Regions from separate parts of the Homo sapiens genome. Here all the other regions are linked to region 4. Evidence: promoter capture Hi-C in 16 types of primary human blood cells and fetal thymus (Javierre and others, 2016). All regions are on one chromosome and are shown on one strand. The core of a region is centred on a gene start or on the middle of the fragment in contact, and the rest is flanking DNA. Distances in the headings are between cores, read along the strand shown. Region 1 overlaps LINC02718 (long intergenic non-protein coding RNA 2718). Region 2 overlaps SERGEF (secretion regulating guanine nucleotide exchange factor). Region 3 has its middle 7.7 kb from the start of FANCF. Region 4 holds the start of HTATIP2 (HIV-1 Tat interactive protein 2).

Region 1 (2,700 bases), core at 96-2,595, 2.5 Mb after region 4:
AAAAAGGTGCCTAAGGTCGACCTGCAAACTATAGAGTTCCTAAGTTCTCTTTCTCTATTTTCTGCCTGCTTTAAATCTGGTGTTACTTTCATACTGAGATAAAAAACCACTGTTTGGATCTAACCGTTTTTTTGCAAACCGGCAAATTTATATTCATCTCATGGCCAAAGTACTAAAGTAAATCTATAGGATCTTTGTGTGTGTACGTATATGTATGTATATATGTGTGTATGTATTTGAAGGCCTTCATAAATTCTATAATTTTATGTTTAATTGGAAGTTACATTCATTTTAATTTTCCTTTAGCGTACCAAACTTTTTCTTTTTGTACCTTATTACGTAAATTTTGCTATCTGATTGTCACCTGGGTTGTTTCCTTTAATATGCAAATTTATGTCTATTTAGCTGAAAACTGCTTAGGGTGGTGCAACATGTTATCGAGAATTTGAAAATCTAAAATTGAAAAAAAAAAAAAGGAAAAGGAAGTCTTTATGAATCTATAAAATGTACCTCTATCGGCATGCCTAGATATGTCCATGTATTTATGTTATGCAGTGTTTCACTGCTAAAATATATATATGTAAAGAGTTCCAATTAATTGGCTAAAAAAATAGGTAAAAGTGCTTAAATCAGAGACTTAAAAAAGAAAAGACTAGTCAAATATTTTTTCAGGTTCACATGACTTAAGTAAAATCTTTAATAAATAAGATGGCTTTAAAACTATTGGTAAAATAATATCAACAATGTTAGCATTTTGTTTGCATTTATTGATCAAGTAGTTTCATGTTTATTCCTGCCTAGTGGGCCAGATAATGCCATTGTAAGTTCTCTTTGCCCTGAGAAGGGTTGACTGCCCCACTCTTCCTATAAAATACCAAGTGAAGTACACCAGATGAAGCAGTTAATATGTTTCATATGCAAGCCATGTTGGACTAGCTTTATAACTGGGATATCCTCCTGCCAAATATGCATATTACCTAGGTCATGGTAAATTTGGGGGTTAGGGGACCCCCTTTACGTGGGTGCTCCTCTGACAGAATGACAGGACTATTTAAGTAGACTTATCAAATCTGCGGTCCCTCATAGGTCTTATAGATGTAACTCCCTGCTGGGAAACCAAATCCTTTTCACCAGAAAAGGTAAAATGGTCTGGGGGTAAAAAAGGGTTCCTGAGACCTGAACATAAAAACATACAGTTTAATAGAATTATAAAATTTAAGATGTTTAAACAAGCTTTATGTAAGGTAGTTGTAACCCCCTTTTACCAAAAAGTCTTATGAAAATGGGTACTGTATCTAACTGGGGGTTGTTTTTCTCTTTTCTAGTACTATAAAAACTGAAGACATATAAATCGGCTCTTTAGGAAATGTTATTTAAACATTTATTAAATTTATTTATTTAAAAATGTTATTTAAACACACTAAATAGGAACTAGTAAAAGCCCACAAAATATAGGGTAAAGCTTTCCTTTGCTGCATAGCCCTTTATGTGGAGCTTTTATCGGGGCTGATGGAAAAAACTGTGAGTACCTTTCAATGACAATGACCGAACTAGAGAATTTCTACTTGATAGGGCATTTACTGCCTTGCTATGAGATATTAACTGAAGCTACCCCTATGCTAATGGAAATTATGTTTCCCAAAAGAGTCCTATGATAAAATAAAAATGGCTTACACAAAATCTTGCTACTTAATAAGCAGAGAGCCTCTTTTCTAGGACTAATTGTGAGGAGCTGCTAAATTCTACAGTGCCTAATAGTTCTCATTAGCTGTTTGGTTTGTAAATGGCATTTCCCAGGTAAACAAACACTTGTTTTAAAAGCTGCGGCTCTGGTTAAAGAAGGGTCAAAAAAAAAAAAATCTTTTAAGTTATTTGGATAAAGTACATTTTTGTAAGCAAACTTACCTTTCTGAGTCCTCCAAAATTCAGATTGAATTTTATGACAATATAGTTGTCTGCCTAAGTTCAATTATAGTTTTTTTTTTCTTCAAACAATTGGAGACACTGGTTATTTTACCAAGACTGAAACTAAAATATTCTATTTTTAGGTAAACTTTCAGCAAAACCAACTCGAAAGGAGTCTATATGGCCAATCAATTCTTGCTGCATTTTATGCAGCTATTCAGGCAAGCATAATAAGCCTAAAACTTACCTTGCACGCAAATTGGCCTTGCTATAACTTTTTGTTTAATAAAAAGGGCAGCTAGAAAAAATGTTTCAAGGGTAAAGCGTAACACTTAATACTAGATTTCAGCCCTAACTTTTTGAGTACAGATTAAATCATTATTTCTTGGCTACAAGAATCCTCTAGAAAGCACCAAGTTATAATTTTTCTTCATATTTTTAGTTGGTACCCTAATGTAATAGGTTCCTTTTTCTATTCTGATCTATGAATTACTCCTATAATTGTCAAACTATAAATGTTAATTATCTCTCCTTGTTTTACATCCAAGGAAACCAAAATCATGGTATTTTGAAAACCAGAGGTATGAATCTCCCTCGTTTGGCATCCCACTGGGCCTGGACCTGTTTCACTGCTAATGTTCTGCTGCCAAAACTATACAAGCTGCCTGGACTATTGCAGAAGAGGTGGGTGCATAAGATTGTAAGGACCGGCTTTCAGGGAAAAAATTAGCTTAAGGTCAAACCCTCCAAATCAAGAAAGGGGGTACAAAAATGCCTAAACAGCAGGTAAAACAA
Region 2 (2,700 bases), core at 32-2,531, 2.4 Mb before region 4:
GAGGATTGCTTGAGGCCAGAAATTCAAGACCAGCCTGGGCAACATAGCGAGACCCTGTCTCTACAAAAAATCTTAAAAATTAGCAGGGCATGGTGGCATGCACCTATAGTTCTAGCTACTCAGGAGGCTGAGGCAGTTAGACAGCTTGGGCTCAGGAGTTCAAGGCTACAGCAAGCTATGATCGAGCCACTGCACTCCAGCCTGGGCAACAGAGTGAGACCCCATCTCTAAAAAGTATTAAAAATAAAAATAAAAAAATAAAGATAAGATGATCACCTGTAGCAGCTACTGCATGCCTCAGTCCAGCAGCAATACAAACAACCTTCTCTTTATGGAGCTGTCAAAATAAAGAAAAGGATTTAGATCTCAGAACCATCCATCTACAAAATTTTATGTAATTTATACCAAATACAATGCAGTACGGTCCTCATTATGGGTCTGACTGGTTTAAAGCAACCACTCCCCCCAATATTTCCACCCATTAATACCTCTACATTTATCCCTAAAAGAAAAAAATATATCTTTTAAAATACCATATCACAATACCATATGACAACAACTCTCAGGGCTGGGAGGCACTTCTAAGGTCATCTAGTCCAAGAGTTAGTAAATGTTTTCTGTAAAGGGACAGTTAGTAAATGTTTTACAGGCCACAGTTTCTGTCACACTACTCAGCTGTGCCATTGTAACATAAAAGCAGCTCTAGACTATACATAAATGAATGAGCATGACTGTGTGCCAGTAAGACTTTATTTACCAAGGGCTCAAAGTTTCCCAACATGATCTAGTCCAATCTCCATCCAACAACACCCCACCAAGTGGTCATCCAACTCCTGCCAAACACCTACCCCCAGTGACATAGGGATCGCCATTTCCCCAGGTGCCTGTTCCATTTTTGCACAGTTCCATTTATCTCTTTAGGTGGAACCAAACCTATCTGCCTGCAGCTTCTGACAATGCTTTCCAAATATTTGAAGACAGTTGTCATGTCCTCTCTAAGACATCTTGTAGTGGTTTTAAAAATAGGTCCTCAAATTCTTGCTACTCCTCCCTTCAAGATGTGGAGCTTAATACCCCTCCCCTTGTGTGGGCTGGACTTAGTGACATGCTTTTAATAAAGAGAATAAAGCAGCAATGAGTGACTCAGAGTCTAGGCGAAAAAAGGCACTAAGGCTTCCTGCTTAGCATCTCTCCCTCTCTCTCTCATCACTCCTGGGGGAAACCAGATGCTATGTCTGAAAAGTCCAATAGAAAGGTCCACATGGCAAGGAACATGAAACCATTAGGGCTTTACCACATTTGTTTATTTACAGGTCCACGGAGATTGCAAGCAGACCCAGCTAACATCTCAACTGTAACTTCATGAGAGACCAGCTAAGCTGTTCCTAAATTCCTGACTCTCCGAAACTGTGACATAATAAATGTTTGCTGTTTTAAGCTGCTAAGGTTTGCAGTAATTTGTTACACAGCAATAGATAACTAATGAAGATCTTTTCTTCAAAGCAAATATCCCCCATTCATCAGCCATCACTGGATTTCAAATTCCCTTCCCCTCCTGGTCTTCACTTCTCTAAATATGCTCTAGTTGTTCAATCTTTCTCTTTTAAAGGAACTCTATAGCATAATCATAACCCCATTAAGGCTTACCACATTTGTTTATTTACAGGTCCACAGTGTCTTTCTAAACTTTAGGACCCTCAAGGGCAGGACCTGAGTCTTATATACCTTTATGCCCAGGGCCTAAGCACCAAATCCACAACAAAACACAACATCCCAGATGCAGGCTGAACAGCAGAAAGGGCTGAGCTTTGGCCTTCCTTCTTCTGGAAACTATACTTCTGTCAATGGAGTCCACAATCACATTAGCTTACGAGAAGATCAAATCTTAGCGTTAATACAATTTGAACATATTGTCCTTTATATTTTTCTTTTGTTTTTCCCCAAAAAACTAACTGAAGGGCTTTACATGTGACTTCAGTCTCTTTAACACCACTCACCTCCACCTCTTACTCTCCATCCCAACTGTTGCTGCTTTAGTTTGAGCCACAATTGTTTCATTTGGATTGTTAGCAAGAGTTTCCTCAGTAACCTTCCTTCAATCCATCTTCCTATCTGACCTCCCTACCATGTTGTTCTTACCATGTGTCACATACAACCACCCTGATTGCCCCATTCCCACCCACTCTACCCTGGAACTTCCACCTCTTCCTTATATTCCAACCATACTAAACTACTTACGATATCCCAAACTCTCCTGTTTCATTCCGTTGCACCTTTGCTTACATGGTTCCTTCTGCCTAGAATGTTCTTCTTTTGCACCCACTCTGAGCATCCTCCTATCCCAAGACGGGTAAACCTCTATTTAACTTTTGAGACCTAGCTTAAGCCTCTTCTCACCCCACCTTCCCCCAGATGCTCAAAACTCCCTCCTTTGGGGATATACATGCATCTGTCATAGTTCTGACATGGTATTACATTTAAGTATTTATGTGCCTATCATGTCCTACCAAACTATAAAACTCTCAACTGCTAGGACAGGTCTTATTCAACTTTGCTCCCACTGCCTAAACATAGTACCTACACATAATGGTTGTCATTAAATAAATGAATGAATTTCTATTAAATTTCTCTTTGGCACATTGCTCCTATTGTTGCATAGAATGTCACCTGTCAAAATGTTTTTACTCTCTGATTCTGTCA
Region 3 (2,700 bases), core at 146-2,645, 2.3 Mb after region 4:
GTAACATCTCCATTTTCATTTCTAATTTAGCTTATTTGGATCTTCTCTCTTCTTTTCTTGGTTAAACTAGCTAATAGTCAAACAGTGACATATTCCCTTAGCATTTGCTTGTCTGAGAAACAGTTTATTTTTCCTTCATTTATGAAACTTAGCTTTACTGGATACAAAATTGTTGGCTGATAGTTATTCTGTTTAAGGAGGCTAAAATAGGACCATAGCCCTTTCTGGCTTATAAGGCTTCTGCTGAGAAGTCTGCTGTTAGTCTAAAAGGTTTTACCTTGTAGGTTACCTGATGCTTTTTTCACACTGCTCTTGGAATTCTTTTCTTCACATTGATTTTAGATAGCCTGATGACTTTAGCTCTTGGTGTTGGCCTTTTTGCAATGCATTTCCCAGGAGTTGTTTGAGGTTTTTGTATTTGAATATCTAAATTGCTGGCAAAGCCAGGGAAGTTTTCCTTAATTATTCCCTCAAATAAATAAGTTTTCAAAACTTTTTGCTTTTTCTTCCCACTCAGGAGCATCAATAATTCTTAGGTTGGCCCTTTTACATAATCCCATGTTTCTTAGAGATTTTATTCGTTTCTTTTCATTCTTTTTTTTTTTATTTTTGTGTGATTGGGTTAATTCAAAAACCTTGTTTTCAAGTTCTGGAATTCTTTATTCCACATGGTCTAGTCTAATGTTAAAACTTTTCCCTGCATTTCGTAATTCCCTAAATGTGTCTTTTGTTTCCAGAGTTCTGATTTTTTTTTTCTTTAAAATATCAATCTGTTTAGGAAATCTTTCATTCATAACCTGATTTTCTTTTACATTTTATTGTGTTGTTTTTCACCTTTTTCTTGTATTTCCTTGAGGAACTTAATAATCAACCTCTTGAACTCTTTATCTGGTATTTTAAAGATTTCATCTTAGTTTGGATCCATCGCTGGAGAGTCAGTGGAATCTTTGTGGTGTTATAGAATCATGTTTTTACATATTGCTAGAGTTGTTTTTCTGATTTCTTCTCATTTGGGTAGACCATTTCTTCTAATTACTTCTTGAATTTATTTTTTATTCAAATGTGGTTTTTCAATTTCTGTTTTTCCCTCTTGAGGATATGACTGTAATGTTTATAGTTTATTTTAGCCTATTTCAGCTCTTGGTGTTTTCAGTGATGAAGAATCTGTGTGAAACATCTGTATGAACTCCTTGGTGTGATGGCCTTCTCAGATGCTGGTTATAGTAGCAATGTGCTCAGTGTGTGAGCAGGTTTACTGTCTCCTATGGGGCCAGAATGACAAAGATGTCACAAAGCTTATTTTGTTCCCCAGTGGTGTACATTAATTCATTAATTAATTTATTTATTTTCCCAGTATTTTATTCACTGGGTTGAACAGTTCAGGCTTCAGGCCAGTAGGAGGTGTTCATGGGTAAAAACAGGCTGCAGCTAAAGCAGGTGTGGAATGCAATATCCAGTGATGGGCAGAGGTCCTAACCTTGACAGAGGCAGCTGGAGAAGCTTTCAGTGAAATGCACTAAGGTCTTTTCAGGGTGAAGGGAGGAGCCACTGTAGTTCCCCAACCAGGCCAGCAGGAAAGTGATCCAACTCCCAGTCACACTCCTGACCCAGTGTTCTAGCTATTCAGATGAGACAGGCATCCCTTTTCTTCTGTAGGAATGGTGATGTTACATGTAGAAAAGGACTATGACTCTATCCCTCATGTAAGTCTGCACCTGGAGGGCACTCCTCCTGTGGGGATGCAGTCACCCGAAAGTGTTCCAGGAAGCCTCTCTACATGTGTACCCATGCCAAGCTCTTGTGGGAGAAGCCACAGCTATGTTTGCAGTGATGGGCAAGAGGAAGTGTATTAGTCTGTTTTCAAACTGCTGAGGAAGACATACCCAAGACTGGGCAATTTATAAAGAAAAGAGGTTTAGTTGATTCACAGTTCCACGTGGCTGGGGAGGCCTCACATTCATGGCGGAACATGAAGGAAGAGCAAAGGGATGTCTTACACAGTGGCCAGCAAAGAGAGAATGAGAGCCAAGTGAAAGGGGTTTCCGCTTATAAAACCATCAGATCTTGTGATACTTAGTCACTACCATGAGAACATAATGGGGGAAACTGCTCCCATGATTCAGTTATCTCCCACTGGGTTCCTCCCACAACATGTGGGAATTATGGGAGCTACAATTCAAGATAAGATTTGGGTGGGGACACAACCAAACCATATCAGGAAGAAAAAGTCTTCTTCCCCAGGTTCCTTCATGAGCACCAGGGCTAGCTGACAGTTGGAGTAGAGGCACAAACTTTCTCCACTGAGCCCCACACTGCACCTGTTGTGCCTTTGCTGAAATAAACTCCCCACAAATAGACAGTTTTGGGACTCAAGGCCTGCAGTCTGGATTCTTTGGTCTCACGGGGTGCTCCCTTGATGTGGTATATTCCCACTTCCCCTAGGAGGAGGGATCCCTGAGGGCCAAACTACTGTGAATCCTGCTGCTGCTCTTCTGATTCTAGCCACCCAGTGGGGCTGCCATTCTCCAGGATGGTGCTGGGGAATGTCTGGAAGGGATCCAGTGATAGGACCTGTTCTCTAATCTCACAGTAGTGGGTACCAGCAGAAGTTCTGATGGGGGTGGCAGGGGAGTGATGTAGACTCTGTGAGATTTTCTTGGTTGTGAGATTTTCTTGGTTATAAATGGCCTTAATGTGTTG
Region 4 (2,874 bases), core at 80-2,579:
AACAAAGGGGAAGAATAGACAGGGTACAATGAATAATTTCTGTGACAGATTTGATAAATGAATTACTAGGACAGTGTTTGCTGACAAGGTTTAACATTGCATTCTTGTAGAAAACCTTTAGGAACTCAAAGGGAAGAGTCCAGGCACTGTGACAGGCCAGTGGGGAATGAACCACACTGCTCTATATTAATCAAGCTTTTTTATTGCAAACAACAGAATATATCTGGTAAGCTTATACAGCACAGGAATTTATCAGAAGAATAACAGGAAGTACTGTATTCACAACAGTCTCTGAAAACAGGCAGGAATTTAAGACAAGATCAGACCATCAGATGGCTGGTGGATCATATGATGCCATAATCCTATACCCTTGCCCCAACCAACCCACATATATCTCAGGCCTTCACTGCATCTTTTCATTACTCCTCCAAAACTGAAAACCTATGCGTGAGCCTCTGGCTTGCTGAGCCTAGGCAAAGCCTACATATAATAACTCCCATGGAGATGGAAGAGGCAATGTGTTTCATTGGCTTCTAGATGGGAGGTGGGGCCCCCAAATGACCAATGTTCCCAACAAAACCTGAACAATCTGAAATTATTCAGATTTCTGCTTGTCATTCTAACCTCTGTTCAGGACTTCCAAGATCCAGGACAGGCCCAGTGTAGATACCTGTGTCCCAAACCACTGATCTGGGCTAGGAAGACTGAATCACAGGTGTGGAAGGTCACCCGGGTTCAACCATCTAGGTGATGAATTAGGCCAGGACCTGGGCAGGTAGACCATTTATTCTGGGGAGATATGATGCGAGCTTGAATTACATGGGAGAAATATTTGTAAGGCAGATGGGATAACAGGACTTGATAAGTCTGTAGTGTGGAAAGGCTAGAAAAGAAAGGAATCAAAGGAATCCTGATTTCTGACTTGACAGGGTAGAAGGAGGTGTGTGTGTGTGTGCGTGTGTGTGTGTATGTTTATGTAGGGACAGTGACACCCAAGAGAGGCTAGGAATAGGTTTGTTTTATTCCTGTTTGGGGTGGTTGGGTAGGCAGGGTTAAGTTTTTGACTTGGTGAATTTGAGATGATGGCCAATATACAATTGACATTCCAGCTGGGGGGACCATTGAAGATCAAGTCTGGCAAGTCTACTAGCTGGCGCCTGGGTGAGCTGAGCCCAGCAGGTGAGGGAAAACGCGGGAAGAGGGTCTTGCAGATTCCAAACTTAGGAAGGGTCGCGGCTCCGCGCACGTGCTCTCGGGGTCACCTTCCCCGCGCCTGTGAGGGTGCCAGGAGTTCGTCTCCAGGTCCCGCCCCTGTGGGCGGGGCGAGGCAGCGTCGCCGCGAGGCCACCCGGAAGACCAAGCCGGGTAGGCGCTGTCTCCGTCGCCTCCAACCCCCCCGGTCCGACCAGGGAAGGTGGGATGCTCTGATGGCCGGGCCTGCGGCGCTGAGCGCGGCGGCGGCGGCTGCTCTGGCGGCCGCCCTGCTCCTGCTGCGTCGTGAGGACCCGGGGCCGGGGGCTGGCCCCAGGTAACCCCTCCGCGTATGGGACCGAGCTGGGCCAGGTCTCCTGGCCGGGCCGGGGATACCGTGGGGTATGCCCAGTGATGCCAGCAGCTTGTGGCACCTGGGCGCACCCTCCAGCTCGGGCCCCTTCCGATGGGTCTGCTGGCTCAGGTGCGGGCGATGGCCGGGGAGCCGCGCCCCGCACGTGACTCAGCACTTTCCCCAGAGCCCGGACTGCGGAGAACAATATCCTCCTCCCTAACAGATAAACAGCCCTTGTTCCTCGGGATAAGGACTGGCAGTCCCCTGACACCCTAAGACCGGCATCTGTCGATGTTATTTCCCCAGCATGGCCGAAACAGAAGCCCTGTCGAAGCTTCGGGAAGACTTCAGGATGCAGAATAAATCCGTCTTTATTTTGGGCGCCAGCGGAGAAACCGGCAGAGTGCTCTTAAAGGAAATCCTGGAGCAGGGCCTGTTTTCCAAAGTCACGCTCATTGGCCGGAGGAAGCTCACCTTCGACGAGGAAGCTTATAAAAATGTGGTGGGTATTTCAGCTGGGACTCAAATGGACCCCCAGGATTCTGCGAGGTGAACATATTTCATGCCTAAAGGCTGAATACTGCCCTGCCAGTGGTGGGGGTAGTGAGAGGCCATCAAAACTTGGCCAAGATTGGTCTGTGAGAGTCCCTCCCAGAAGTCTGACTCCTGGATTGTAGCCCAGGTGTGCCTCCCTCCCGCTCATTGTGTGGTCTTGGGCAAAGCCCTTCTCTCCATCTGCAACCCTATAAAGCTGGGTCTGGGTTGTAATGGGGGTGGGGGCTGGTGAGACAGAAGAGCACTGTTTTCAGGGTCATACAAGCTGTATTCTAGAGGCAGCCCTGGTGACCTTGAGAATTTTCTCAGCCACTTTGCTGATTTTGTCAACCTGCGCACTTCACACTAATATTGTCAGGGATTCTGAAACTGCTTTGCAGAGTGAGATAGGTCTATGGCAGTGAAAGGTGGGATTATTCACTTACAAGAATTTGCCCTGCCTGACTTCCCAGGCTTGTGTCTGTAAATCGGATATTCCCTTCACTCTAAGTTAAAGGTTTTTTTTTTTTTTTTTCTGAGACGGAGTCTCACTCTGTCCCCCAGGCTGGAGTGCAGTGGCACGATCTCGGCTCAGTGCAACCTCTGCCTTTCAGGTTCAAGCGATTCTTCTGCCTCAGCCTCCCGAGTAACTGGAACTACAGGCGTGCGTCACCACTCCTGGCTAACTTTTGTATTTTTAGTAGAGACGAGACAAGGTTTCACCATGTTGGCCAGGCTGGTCTCGAACTCTTGACCTCAGATGATGCTCCCGCTTCAGCCTCCCAAAGTGCTGC

The links. The method cuts DNA at HindIII sites, captures the fragments that hold promoters and counts their contacts. A CHiCAGO score of 5 or more calls a contact.
Region 1: a fragment that was not itself captured here is called in contact with the fragment with the promoter of HTATIP2 in region 4 in 5 of 17 cell types (non-activated CD4 T cells, total B cells, naive CD4 T cells and 2 more); the score reaches 13.1 in non-activated CD4 T cells.
Region 2: a fragment that was not itself captured here is called in contact with the fragment with the promoter of HTATIP2 in region 4 in 1 of 17 cell types (activated CD4 T cells); the score reaches 5.8 in activated CD4 T cells.
Region 3: a fragment that was not itself captured here is called in contact with the fragment with the promoter of HTATIP2 in region 4 in 7 of 17 cell types (non-activated CD4 T cells, total B cells, naive CD4 T cells and 4 more); the score reaches 10.8 in non-activated CD4 T cells.

The regions. Positions count from the first base shown.
Region 1 is chr11:22,835,776-22,838,475 of GRCh38, forward strand. LINC02718 (long intergenic non-protein coding RNA 2718) reads left to right here. Exons shown (of 11, transcript NR_187210.1): 3 at 2,454-2,589. Among named protein-coding and RNA genes, the nearest start is that of SVIP, 7.3 kb to the left of the region's middle. The HindIII fragment of the contact is 229 bases long and covers 1,232-1,460 here.
Region 2 is chr11:18,000,221-18,002,920 of GRCh38, forward strand. It overlaps SERGEF (secretion regulating guanine nucleotide exchange factor), which reads right to left. Exons shown (of 11, transcript NM_012139.4): 5 at 277-337. Among named protein-coding and RNA genes, the nearest start is that of SERGEF, 11 kb to the right of the region's middle. The HindIII fragment of the contact is 3,312 bases long and covers 1-2,700 here.
Region 3 is chr11:22,632,163-22,634,862 of GRCh38, forward strand. It overlaps a transcript of GAS2 not described here. Among named protein-coding and RNA genes, the nearest start is that of FANCF, 7.7 kb to the left of the region's middle. The HindIII fragment of the contact is 205 bases long and covers 1,294-1,498 here.
Region 4 is chr11:20,362,385-20,365,258 of GRCh38, forward strand. HTATIP2 (HIV-1 Tat interactive protein 2) reads left to right here and starts at 1,330. Exons shown (of 5, transcript NM_001098522.2): 1 at 1,330-2,048. The coding sequence starts at 1,854. RefSeq lists silencers at 1,331-1,750, 1,537-1,679. The HindIII fragment of the contact is 1,649 bases long and covers 230-1,878 here.